Regions from separate parts of the Homo sapiens genome. Here region 1 is linked to region 2. Evidence: promoter capture Hi-C in human tissues and cell types (Jung and others, 2019). All regions are on one chromosome and are shown on one strand. The core of a region is centred on a gene start or on the middle of the fragment in contact, and the rest is flanking DNA. Distances in the headings are between cores, read along the strand shown. Region 1 holds the start of LOC124906237 (a long non-coding RNA gene). Region 2 holds the start of HYAL1 (hyaluronidase 1).

What was found. The method cuts DNA at HindIII sites, captures the fragments that hold promoters and counts their contacts. A contact is called where the count stands out against the background at its distance.
Region 1: a contact is called between a fragment that was not itself captured here and the fragment with the promoter of HYAL1 in region 2, in 1 of the 25 tissues and cell types used here (dorsolateral prefrontal cortex).

Annotation. Positions count from the first base shown.
Region 1 is chr3:51,665,237-51,671,504 of GRCh38, reverse strand. It overlaps RAD54L2 (RAD54 like 2), which reads right to left. Exons shown (of 23, transcript NM_015106.4): 23 at 2,845-6,268. LOC124906237 (a long non-coding RNA gene) reads left to right here and starts at 400. Exons shown (of 2, transcript XR_007095907.1): 1 at 400-856; 2 at 1,849-2,888. TEX264 (testis expressed 264, ER-phagy receptor) reads right to left here and starts at 253. Exons shown (of 5, transcript NM_015926.6): 1 at 217-253. RefSeq lists a silencer at 88-517. The HindIII fragment of the contact is 4,028 bases long and covers 1-3,623 here.
Region 2 is chr3:50,300,274-50,306,928 of GRCh38, reverse strand. It overlaps HYAL1 (hyaluronidase 1), which reads left to right and starts at 3,355. Exons shown (of 4, transcript NM_033159.4): 1 at 3,355-3,463; 2 at 3,949-4,872; 3 at 5,852-5,941; 4 at 6,129-6,655. The coding sequence starts at 3,973. The coding sequence ends at 6,446. RefSeq lists enhancers at 2,950-3,119, 2,937-3,871. The HindIII fragment of the contact is 11,854 bases long and covers 1-5,168 here.

The sequences.
Region 1 (6,268 bases), core at 360-2,859, 1.4 Mb before region 2:
TGGGCTGCCCGGAAGAGTAGGGGCTGCCCCAAGGTCGCATCCAGGCCCTCGGACCTGGCCGAGGCCAGCTGTGGGCAAGACAAGATGCAAAGAGCGGCCCGGGCCGCGGGGGTCACGGAGGGGACACGGAGAGTCCTGAGGTCGCGCCAGGGCGGACAGGGGGAGTCCCAGACCTACGCCCCAGTGGGTATGCCTCTCCTCTGGCCCGGCCCTCACCTCAGCAGCCGCCCGCTGCGGACGCCGATCCGCGCAGGCGGCTCAGGGTTCGGTTACGGAGCCTGCGCGCGCCCGCCGCGCACGCTCGCTCCGCCCCCTCTCGCGGCGGGACATGGCCGTGGCCGTGGGCGCGTGCGCGCGGGACCCGGAGGGCGGAGGCCTGCCCCGCCCCGTCTCCATGGCAACGGGCGTGTGCCTAGCCCCAGCGCTGGCTGCGGCGGAACCCACGGCGTACCTTCCCGCCTCCAACAAACTATCCGGTTGCTGAGGTTGATTTAGCAACACCCCAGGGCATCTGGGTTGGCAGGAGCACCACAGTGACAGCCTGGCCCAGGCTCGGGTACGGGAGGCAGCCCAGTGGCCCGCAGTAGAGGGCCAGGCTGGGGACCAGGGAGCTGGGGCTGAGGAGAATTTGTACAGCCTAGGGAGGCGCAGCACAGCAGTATCAGCCTCTGGCATTTGTACCACCTTTAGTCCTGCCACTTTCTCTCACTGTGGCTTCGCAACAGACTTGGGAACCAAGAAAGGCATAGGTGAGGAAGCTGAAGCCCAGTCTGGGCTCGCGGAAGAAACTGGTGGATCCAACTTCTGCATAGCGCAAATATCTGCTTCCTGCCTCCACCCACCCATTCCCACTTCCGTGAGTATATTCATCCATCCAACACTTATTATTACTCCTTGCCAGGACAGTTCTAGGGGCTGGGGATAGAGTGAACAAAACCAAGGTTCTGCCCTCCTGGAGTTCACGTTCCATGGGAATGCCCTTCTTCCAGGCTCCTCCCTCAGTGCCCAGGTTGTGGCTGTGGGAGGCTGGTCTACCTTTGTGGTTTAGCGGTAACTTACGTGATTCCCACGTCAAGTGTAAGCTCCTTGATGATTGGTTCAATCTTCACCTCAAATTTCTGAGGACCTACAAACTACAAAGCACTCTTCTAGGGGCCCAAAGATAAAACGCTCCCCTCGTGAAAATCCCGGACTTTTGGTGGGAGGTGGGGAAGGTGACAACTATGCTCATAAGCTTGGCTACAAGACCGGCGAGGCCAAGAGCTACTTTGGTATCCTGACAAGGACTGATGTTTGGGAGGGGGATCCAGCAGATGGGAACACCACGAAGGTGGTGGTGGGAAAAGTCAGCAGTCACAGGGTGGTTCACCTTGTGGATCCCACTACTGCACCAGCAAAGAGCAGGCTGGGCACACAGAGACAGTCAAAATCCCAGCTTCCTTTCCCTCTGCTTCACATTCTTCCTTCCGCAGGCAGGGGAGTTTGAACCTTATCCACAGGGCCAAGCCTGTCCCAGCCCTCTAGGCAAACTGGCAGAACAGGCAGCTGGCCCCTCACAGGCACTCCGGGCTGGGCCAGTGCAGGTCGCAGCAGTTGTTTTACCTATGAACATCAAGCACATGGTCAAACCCTCAGCTTAGGTGCCCCAGGCAGGCGGGCTACACACTTGGTAGCATTTCCTTTGACACAAGGAGCAGCCATGGCCCGGGCTCAGAGACTGACAGCCTCTGCCTGCAGGGTCTGCGTGGTCATTTCTCCTGCTTCTCAGAAGGTGGTGAGCTTTTCCCAGGAAACCATTATAAGGAAGTGCCCATTCTTTATCTTGTTCTCTCTGCTCACTTCCCTTAGCCTGATTGGGGAACTCTAGAGCCCCACATCAGAGTTCAACATGTGCCTCAGGAGCTTCAGCACCTCTTTTGTGGGAGGAGAGTCCGCTGGTGACTGGGGCTGCAGGCCATGACATCAGCCTGCCCAGCTTCACCTCAGGCTGCTTCCAACAGTGCCAAGTGAGGTCCCTTGGCAGGATCCCTGCAAGGCAGCGGCTGGCCACCAGGAGGCAGCAGCCTACTCTACAAGGCACTTTCTTCATTCCAACCCCTTGTAACAGGTCTGAGGAAACCTGTTCGCCCAGCCATGTGCTGCAACCATCCTCCACTCCCAATCTTATCTCCCAATAGCACAGATTCCCCTATCATGAGTCCAGACTTGGCCTTCATCTCCTCTTGCCTTCCTCTGTCCAAGGAATCACTACAGAGATTCTTTCTCTATCCTTCTTTGTAAATTTCCAGAAAATTGTTTCCCCAGGGCCCCTCCCCTTGAAGAAATTAAACAGGAAGCTGGAGTAGACTGTCCCTTCTTTCCCCCACCTCTCACACTCCAAAGCTCTGTTTAACTCTGTGGGCCAGTGGCTAGATTCCCCAACATGGATGACAGAGAATACACATGCAATAAGAATGTTTTCGCTGCCACCAGCCACTCACAGACACACTGTCTCCCACCCTCTGAAGGCATTGTGCCCAATCCCCAGCCACTCACTGTCTAGTCAGGGCTGCCCCTGCAGGACTTGCCTTGGCTGAGGACCAGCTAGCTTCAAGCCACTCTGAAGTCAGCTTGCTGTTTCCCCTGGAGCCTGGTAATACATCCTTCTTCAGGTGAACAAAAGCAGAAAAAGCCCAGTGAACCCCACTGCAACAAAGAGCCTGCCATCAGTCTTCCTTCTGTTCCTGCCTATCTCATCACCCAAGGGCTATCCCAGAGCCCACTATGTTCTAAGATCTATTCCTTTCACCACCACCCAGCCAAACAACTATCCAGACAATTCCTTGATCAAACAACACTGCCTTCTTGAGTTTAAATTTTATTTTACAAAAAGAGAAATAAAGAAAACTGATAGGCAGTTATACTGACTTACAATTGTTCTGTTTGCTTTTTTTTAAAAAAGTGACATGAAACACAAGTAAAAATAAATACGTCATAGAAACAGCCAGTTGCCCAGTCTCTGGGGCAGGAGCGCCTGCCCTGCTGAGAGGAGGGAAGCCCATGATCACACCAGCAGCTGGATCACCCAGCCACAGATGCTCCTCGAAGCCAGGCACAGGTCCCAGGCCTCAGGGGCGTCCTGAGGAAAGAAGACGGAAAACCAAAGCCAGGTGCCAGGACCCTGGGGCCACCTCATTATCCCCCACTCCTCCTGGCAGCAGTCTGGTCTTAGTGGTTATCCATAGCGACCCCCCTTAACCCACCTGGACCCTCTTCCCCTGACCTCTCTGAAGATGGTACAAGGGAAAAACCTGTCTTGGGCAGGCTGGGGGGGATTCTTCTGGTGAGTCCCCAGCCCACCCTGAGTAACACAACCAGATAACAGTCATTTTACACCCAGGTGCACATGAGCACAGCACACAAACACACACACACACACTCACACACACACACACACACAGCTGGGCTGAGCTCTCTTCCAGGGAGGGTCCTGGGTCCAGTCACAGTATGAGGTCCTCTCTCTTCTGAATATCATCCCAGTAGTGGCAGCAGAGAGTACCCAAACCTCCCCAAGCCCTCTGCATTGCAGACACTGCAGCCTGCTTGGCTACCCCTCCCCAACACACTAGATTACTATGTCAAATAGACCTGCAAAAGGGAAAGGTGCACACTCAGGTCCCTGAAGAGCAAAGAAGTTGGACACTGCCTGCTCAAGAAGTTCATTGTTATAAGACTCAGGTATTCATAAAAGGCCTAGGGCTAAGCTAGTAGCACAGAAAAGCCGTTAAGGGGATCACAGCAGAATACACAGGGCAGAAGAGAAGAGTTGGCAGCAGGGGAACGGAGTCTCAAGGTGACCAATAGAGAGCACAACATTCTCAAATAGTCCTTGAGGTGCTGATTCCTGGGAGTAGTCAGCAGAGGGCCAGAACATCTCCCAGGGGTCCTTTTGGGGAAGGATGACTTCACTTAGTTTTAGGGGTGAAGAGCCACTGAGCTGGGTGCACAGAAGGCCATGGCTCAGAAGGGAAAGACTGATCTGAGAAATCAAAAGGAAGTGGGGGCCAGGAGCAGTGGCTCACGCCTGTAATCCCATCACTGGGAGGCCGAGGAGGGTGGATCACTTGAGGTCAGGAGTTCAAGGCCAGCCTGGCCAACGTGGTGAAACCCCGTCTCTACTAAAAAATATACAAATTAGCTGGGCATGGTGGTGTGCACCTGTAATCCCAGCTACTTGGGAGGCTGAGGCAGGAGGATCGCTTGAAACCGGGAGTGGAGGTTGCACGGAGCCAAGATCACACCATTGCACTCAAGCCTGGGTGACAGAGCAAGACTCTGTCTCAAAAAAAAAAAAAAGGAAGTGGGAAGCAGAAGGTAATATCCAGAACACTAGTAACAAGGAATGTAAAGCCCCCAGAAGACCTTCCCCATGGGATGAGGACTCAATTTCAGAGCAATGCCAGGTTTGAATAGACTCACACAGAGGGCCCTTCTCTGCTGACAACTTTGGGAGTGATGGTCCTACCCAGGCCACTTAAGTTTGGCTAAGTGTTTCAACCAATCTGCAAAACTGTACCCCAGCACTTTGCTTCCTGCTCCTGAATTGAGAAATTTCATATTTAGTTGTGAATCACAAGCATATAGAGACTCCACACACTAATTCCTAGGGAAGAGAGCTCCAAGGATCACAAGCATATAGAGACTCCACACACTAATTCCTAGGGAAGAGAGCTCCAAGGACCAGACAGAATTATCCTTAAATCAGGAGATGATGAGATAGATGCCTAAAAAGCATAACTCAAAGGGGTGTGGACTTCATAGATATCCAATCTAAAGAAAATGATATGACCCAACATGGTTCACTTCCTTTCTTAAATAGCTACTTTGTCCCTGTTCAATTTTTATCTACAAATATATTAAGAAAAGGAAATCAAGCATCACTATAAATGGTAAACCTCAATCATTAAGTAGTACTGTGTTCCCCAGGCTGAGAACTTGGCTAAACCAGATGAATGGGGCTTGAGAGGCCCTTGAAAACATTCCATGGAAGACAATGGTAAGGGAAAACGCCTAGGCCTGATTTTCTGCCCTCCCTCTTATCACCAGCCACCCTGCCCCCCTCAGGCCTGGATAATGGGTGGAAGACACCACCAAGTGTTTATGATCAAAGAAACTATAAAACATGGTTCTTAGGCTCTGAGATACTTCCTGCTTCCCTCACAAACATGCTTATGTTTGGTGTGCATGCACATTTGCCTATCAGCACATATAAAGAGACAGTGGAAAAGTCAGAAGTGTTTTCAGGTTATTTTCTTTAAAAAAAAAAAAAAAAAAAAAAAAAAAAAAAAAAAGCAAAAACCATGGACCTGGTAGCACTCCAATTTCCCATGATCCCACCCCCAACCCCTCTACACAATAGAAACTGCACATATAAAAGAAAGCCTTCTCTAGTCAGGTCAGCCTCCCAGAATGATGGCCTCTGCTGAGTAGAAGCAAGACCCAGTCCCTGGAACACTGGATAGACAGTAGGCATGTGCTGCCTCTCAGAATACCCATTTACTTTCTGTCAACTTCAAAAGCCAAGCCCATCCCTCCAGGGAATGGTTTCAGTTCCCGGCTGGGAAGGTTTCCGGATTCTTGGAGGCTAGTACAGTGATTTCCTAGAAGTGAACACAGAAATACTACCCCCTTCTCCCGACAACACACACACACAGACATACACATGCACACATGCATCTCTGGGATCCCAGTGCTCCAGGGCCTGAGAGGCATCAGTGTAACCCAGGTTCTGAGTGTGTCCCATAAATTGGAGATTCAGTCTAGCTCACTCCTACTGCACCAGCCTCAACCTGAGAGCTCACTCCAACTGAGTCCCTTCACCATCCATTCTTGGGATGCATCTGAAAGAGAAAGCACTGGTTGGAACTGCTATTTTTAAATTATTAAAATAATTTGCATAGCTAAATTGTAGATCTAAGGCTTCCATGAGTAGAAGAGTTAAGTGTCTGGCAGGGTGCTTATGAAAACACAAAGCTTCTTAAGTTCCACTTTTGGTGTTATTGGACAGCAGACAAACACACATATACACATGCACCCCATCCATCATCTCCTTGTCTCTTCTCTGAGGACAATACCCCAGAGTCTGCTAAGGCCCTCCAAAGATGGAAATGGGCTGGTCAGAAGAGCTGTAGGAGCTACTACTGGGATGACCTGACTAAGCTGCCTTCTGGGCTGGGAAGAGGCAGGTACACCACCTGCCCAGTAAGGAGGGAGCCATGGGTAAGTGGTA
Region 2 (6,655 bases), core at 2,106-4,605:
CTGGATAATTTTTGTGTTTTTGTTGTTGTTGTTGTTGTTGTTGAGATGGAGTCTTGCTCTGTCACTGAGGCTGGAGTAACAGTAGCATGATCTCGGCTCACTGCAACCCCCACCTCCCAGGTTGAAGCAATTCTCCTGCCTCAGCCTCCTGAGTAGCTGGGATTACAGGCACCCACCACCATGCCGGGCTAATTTTTGTATTTTTAGTAGAGATAGGTTTCACCATGTTGGCCAAGCTGGTCTCAAACTCCCGACCTCAGGTGACCCGCCCACCTCGGCCTCCCAAAGTGTTGGGATTACGGGTGTGAGCCACCACTCCCAGCCAAAAAAAATTTTTTTAATCTTATTACCATATTTCAGCTAGAACAAAATGCTGCTAAAGTAACAATGATCACACAAAGTATATGATTTCTGAGTGCTGTAAGTGTAAGCAGAAGTTAACACCAGCTGGTTGTTAAATGCTAACTTTAGTCATTTAAAGGAAATTGCAAGGCAGAATCCCAAGCCAGTTTCTTACCTAGTGATGGGTCTCAGGCTGTAGACTGCTCTCTACCATCCCAGAAGCAGGAAAAAAAAACTAATTTTCCCTGTTGGAAGCGAGCTCAAACTCCATAAAGGAGTTACCTGCCTTCCATCGTCATGGAAGCAGAAAAACTTGCTTTCCTTTTGGGAGCAAGTAAAACTCCAAAAAAAAAAAAAAAAAAAAAAAGAGTTGTACAGCAAAATAAACTTTAGATCTCAACCAATTGAGAAATCAAGGATTCTCTGGAGGGGGTGCTCCCAGACCTCAGCAAATTGTCCTATTGGTTTGAGCCATAAAGTTAGCTCCTGCTGGTACCAAGCACAGATAGGCAATTAGTCAAAAGTCAAGGACATCTCCACACAGAATCCATCCATAGTTACCAAATGTGAACCCAGAAAATCTGAGACAGCTCTCAGTTAATTTAAAAAGTTTATTTTGCTGAGGTTGAAGATGCATCCAAGACACAGCCTCAGGAAGTCCTGATGACATGTGCCCAAGGTGTTCCGGGCACAGCTTGGTTTTATACATTTTAGGGAGATATGAGACATCTATCAATACGTAAGAAGTACCTTAGCCAAGCGTGGTGGCTCAAGCCTGTAATCCCAGCACTTTGGGAGGCCAAGGTGGGCAGATCACAAGGTCAGGAGTTCAAGACCAGCCTGGCCAATATGGTGAAACCCTGTCTCTACTAAACATATAAAAATTAGCTGGGTGTGGTGGCACGCGCCTGTAGTCCCAGCTACTCTGGAGGCTGAGGCAGGAGAATCGCTTGAACCCGGGAGCCAGAGGTTGCAGTGAGCCGAGATCATGCCATTGCACTCCAGCCTGGGCGACAGAGTGAGACTTCATCTAAAAAAAAATTAGGCCAGGCGCGGTGGCTCACACCTGTAATCCCAGCACTTTGGGAAGCTGAGGCAGGCAGATCACAAGGTCAGGAGATCGAGACCATCCTGGCTAACACGGTGAAACCTCGTCTCTACTAAAAATACAAAAAATTAGCCAGGCGTGGTGGCGGGCGCCTGTAGTCCCAGCTACTCGGGAGGCTGAGGCAGGAGAATGGCATGAACCCGGGGGGCAGAGCTTGCAGTGAGCTGAGATCGCACCACTGCACTCCAGCCTGGGCGACAGAGCGAGACTCCGTCTCAAAAAATAAAAATAAAAAAAAAACAGAAGTACATAAGCTCTGTCCAGAGAGGTGGAGACAGCTCAAAGCACGGCCCCCCACTGGGGGCTTCCAGGTCACAGGCAGGTGACAGACAGATGGTTGCATTCTTTTGAGTTTCTGGTAGTCTTTCCAAAAGAGGCAATGGAGGCAATCATAATATGCATCTATGTCTGTAAGCAAAAGGATGACTTGAATAGAATGGGAGGCAGATTTGTCCTGAGCGGTTCCCAGCTTGAAGGGGCCCAAGATATTTTCCTTTCACATATTGAACAAGTGAAACCACAAATGAATGAACAAGCATGTGCTCACTGACAGCTCATATGCATGGTCACACAAACACAGGATCTCATGCTCACAAGACAGCAGGGCTCACACACACCCAGTCCCAGGCACTGGGTTCCACACTCACACCTACTTGCCACTGGAATTTGTGCAGAGGCTCAGATGGTCACTAAATGGGGCTTCACAAAGACACAGTCACTAACCCAGCACATATACAAAGGGTGATGACACAGCCCTGACTTCATGAACACAGTGCCTTTCAGAAACAGGTCCCTACAACAGGGATGACTTATCCACTAAGCACAATAGACCCAAGGCCTAGGGCCACAGTACTTTCAGGGGCCCACAAAATGTTTTTTTAATCAGAAGAAGAATATAAATGTAAATATATTAATAATTAATATATAATAGTGTAACCCAGACATGACCTCCTGGGCTCAAGCACTCCTCCTGCCTCAGTGTCCCAAGTAGCTGGGACTACAGGTACATACCACCATGCCCAGCTAATTTTTAATTTTTTTGTAGAGATGGGGTCTTGCTACATTGCCTAGGCTGGTCTCGAACTCCTGGGCTCAAGCAATTCTCCCACCTCAGCCTCCCAAAGTGCTAAGACTATAGCCATATATATATATATATATATATATATATATATATATATATATTTTTTTTTTTTTTTTTTTTTTTGAGATGGAGTCGCTCTCTGTCACCCAGGCTGGAGTATAGTAGCACAGTGGAGCAGTCTTGGCTCACTGCAACCTCTGCCTCCCGGGTTCAAGGGATTGTCCTGCCTCAGCCTCCCGAGTAGCTGGGATTACAGGCGCCTGCCACCACGCCCGGCTAATTTTTTGTATTTTTAGTAGAGAAGGGGTTTCACCATGTTAGCCGGGATGGTCTCGATCTCCTGACCTCGTGATCTGCCACCTCGGCTTCCCAAAGTGCTAGGATTATAGGCGTGAGCCTCCGCACCTGGCATGCCTGGCCATATTTTAAAATATTTTTTTTAAGGAGGAAAAGATCCACGAAAGTAAAGTGCCTAGGGCCCATCAATGTCAGATGCAGCCACGTGGACAAAGAACACTCCCTGAGCACAAGACACGAAAGAACCCGGTCTCCAGTGTCACAAACAGGCCTGCCCAGCAGGGTCTGCCCCTGCCCACCTCCTCCAGCCTAGGTAAGGCCACAAAGCCCTGCCCTAGTGCTGACAGCGTGGGAGGGGCCACTGTTGGCCCAGCCCCACCCCCAACCAAGATCCCTTTGCCAGGGATTCAGAGGTAGCCCTGATGCCTGGCTGGCCTGGCCTCCTAATCCAAGGCCCGCCCCTTGGCCCGCCCCTGGCCTGGGTGGGGTGACCCCCTACAAAAGCTCAGAATTTCCAGCAGCGGCTCCTTCCTCCAGGAGTCTCTGGTGCAGCTGGGGTGGAATCTGGCCAGGCCCTGCTTAGGCCCCCATCCTGGGGTCAGGAAATTTGGAGGATAAGGCCCTTCAGCCCCAAGGTCAGCAGGGACGAGCGGGCAGACTGGCGGGTGTACAGGAGGGCTGGGTTGACCTGTCCTTGGTCACTGAGGCCATTGGATCTTCCTCCAGTGGCTGCCAGGATTTCTGGTGGAAGAGACAGGAAGGCCTCCCCCCCTTGGTCGGGTCAGCCTGGGGGCTGAGGGCCTGGCTGTCAGCCACTCTTCCCAGAACATATGTCATGGCCTCAGTGGCTCATGGGGAAGCAGGGGTGGGCGAGCTTAGGCTAGAGCAAGTCCTGTGGGAGATGGCAGAGGCCTGGTCTGAGAGGCAACTCGGATGTGCCCTCCAGTGGCCATGCTCCCCTCCATGCGTCTCCCCTGCCCTCCTGGAGCCCTGCAGGTCAATGTTTAACAGAAACCAGAGCAGCGGTGGATTAATGCGCAAGGGCTCAGCCCCCCAGCCCTGAGCAGTGGGGGAATCGGAGACTTTGCAACCTGTTCTCAGCTCTGCCTCCCCTGGCCAGGTTGTCCTCGACCAGTCCCGTGCCATGGCAGCCCACCTGCTTCCCATCTGCGCCCTCTTCCTGACCTTACTCGATATGGCCCAAGGCTTTAGGGGCCCCTTGCTACCCAACCGGCCCTTCACCACCGTCTGGAATGCAAACACCCAGTGGTGCCTGGAGAGGCACGGTGTGGACGTGGATGTCAGTGTCTTCGATGTGGTAGCCAACCCAGGGCAGACCTTCCGCGGCCCTGACATGACAATTTTCTATAGCTCCCAGCTGGGCACCTACCCCTACTACACGCCCACTGGGGAGCCTGTGTTTGGTGGTCTGCCCCAGAATGCCAGCCTGATTGCCCACCTGGCCCGCACATTCCAGGACATCCTGGCTGCCATACCTGCTCCTGACTTCTCAGGGCTGGCAGTCATCGACTGGGAGGCATGGCGCCCACGCTGGGCCTTCAACTGGGACACCAAGGACATTTACCGGCAGCGCTCACGGGCACTGGTACAGGCACAGCACCCTGATTGGCCAGCTCCTCAGGTGGAGGCAGTAGCCCAGGACCAGTTCCAGGGAGCTGCACGGGCCTGGATGGCAGGCACCCTCCAGCTGGGGCGGGCACTGCGTCCTCGCGGCCTCTGGGGCTTCTATGGCTTCCCTGACTGCTACAACTATGACTTTCTAAGCCCCAACTACACCGGCCAGTGCCCATCAGGCATCCGTGCCCAAAATGACCAGCTAGGGTGGCTGTGGGGCCAGAGCCGTGCCCTCTATCCCAGCATCTACATGCCCGCAGTGCTGGAGGGCACAGGGAAGTCACAGATGTATGTGCAACACCGTGTGGCCGAGGCATTCCGTGTGGCTGTGGCTGCTGGTGACCCCAATCTGCCGGTGCTGCCCTATGTCCAGATCTTCTATGACACGACAAACCACTTTCTGCCCCTGGTGAGTCTTCTGTAACCTGCCCACCTTGTCAACCTGCCTTGTCAGATATTAGGTCCAGCCTTGGGGTACTTTAGCTTTGGGACATTTTCTTCGTTTTTTTTTTTTTGAGACAGAGTCTCACTCTGTCACCCAGGCTGGAGTGCAGTGGCACGATCTTGGCTCACTGCAAGCTCTGCCTCCCGGGTTCATGCCATTCTCCTGCCTCAGCCTCCGAGTAGCTGGGATACAGGCGCCCGCCACCACACCCAGCTAATTTTTTGTATTTTTTAGTAGAGTCAGGGTTTCACTGTGTTAGCCAGGATGGTCTCAATCTCCTGACCTCGTGATCCATCCGCCTCGGCCTCCCAAAGTGCTGGGATTACAGGCGTGAGCCACCGCGCCCGGCCCCCAACCTTGGGACATTTTCATCCATTCATTCATCCTTTTTTTTTTTTTTTTTTTGAGACGGAGTCTTGCTCTGTCACCCAGGCTGGAGTGCAGGGGCAAGATCTCAGCTCCTGCACCCTCCACCTTCCGGATTCAAGTGATTCTCCTGCCTCAGCCTCCCAAGTAGTTGGGATTACAGGCATGCCATCAACATGTCTGGCTAATTTTTGTATTTTTAGTAGAAATGGGGTTTCACCATGTTGGCCAGGCTGGTCTCGAACTCCTGACTTCAGGTGATCCTCCCACCTCAGCCTCCCAAAGTGCTGGGATTACAGGTATGAGCCACCGCGCCTGGCGCATGGGCACATCCATTGAGTGTGCACTTGGTGCCAAGTTCTGTGCCAGGCACAGGCAATTCAACATTTATTGGAATGATGTAGTCCCTGTCTGCATGGAATTCATAGGCTAGAGGAGGAAGCAGTTTGCCTCTGGTCCCATGGCCAGAGCAGCCCCAGGTGAAGGTTATGAATTATTTGTCCCATCTAATGGTGTTCCAGCAGTCTGCCACATGGTGGGAAGGAGGCCCCACAGAGCTGTGCTGTCTCCTTCCCAGGATGAGCTGGAGCACAGCCTGGGGGAGAGTGCGGCCCAGGGGGCAGCTGGAGTGGTGCTCTGGGTGAGCTGGGAAAATACAAGAACCAAGGTGAGCTTAGGCCTGGCATGAGGGTGGGGGTGGGGGAGGGGTGGGGCCATTAAGCTGACGGGGTAGACCCTGACTTACCCTTTCTACCTGCAAAGTCCTGGCTGACCAGCAGGTGAGTGCCTCAGTGCCCTGGGTGGGTCCATACATGGCCATGGTGTCCCTGACGCTATCCTCCCTTCCCACCTAGGAATCATGTCAGGCCATCAAGGAGTATATGGACACTACACTGGGGCCCTTCATCCTGAACGTGACCAGTGGGGCCCTTCTCTGCAGTCAAGCCCTGTGCTCCGGCCATGGCCGCTGTGTCCGCCGCACCAGCCACCCCAAAGCCCTCCTCCTCCTTAACCCTGCCAGTTTCTCCATCCAGCTCACGCCTGGTGGTGGGCCCCTGAGCCTGCGGGGTGCCCTCTCACTTGAAGATCAGGCACAGATGGCTGTGGAGTTCAAATGTCGATGCTACCCTGGCTGGCAGGCACCGTGGTGTGAGCGGAAGAGCATGTGGTGATTGGCCACACACTGAGTTGCACATATTGAGAACCTAATGCACTCTGGGTCTGGCCAGGGCTTCCTCAAATACATGCACAGTCATACAAGTCATGGTCACAGTAAAGAGTACACTCAGCCACTGTCACAGGCATATTCCCTGCACACACATGCATACTTACAGACTGGAATAGTGGCATAAGGAGTTAGAACCACAGCAGACACCATTCA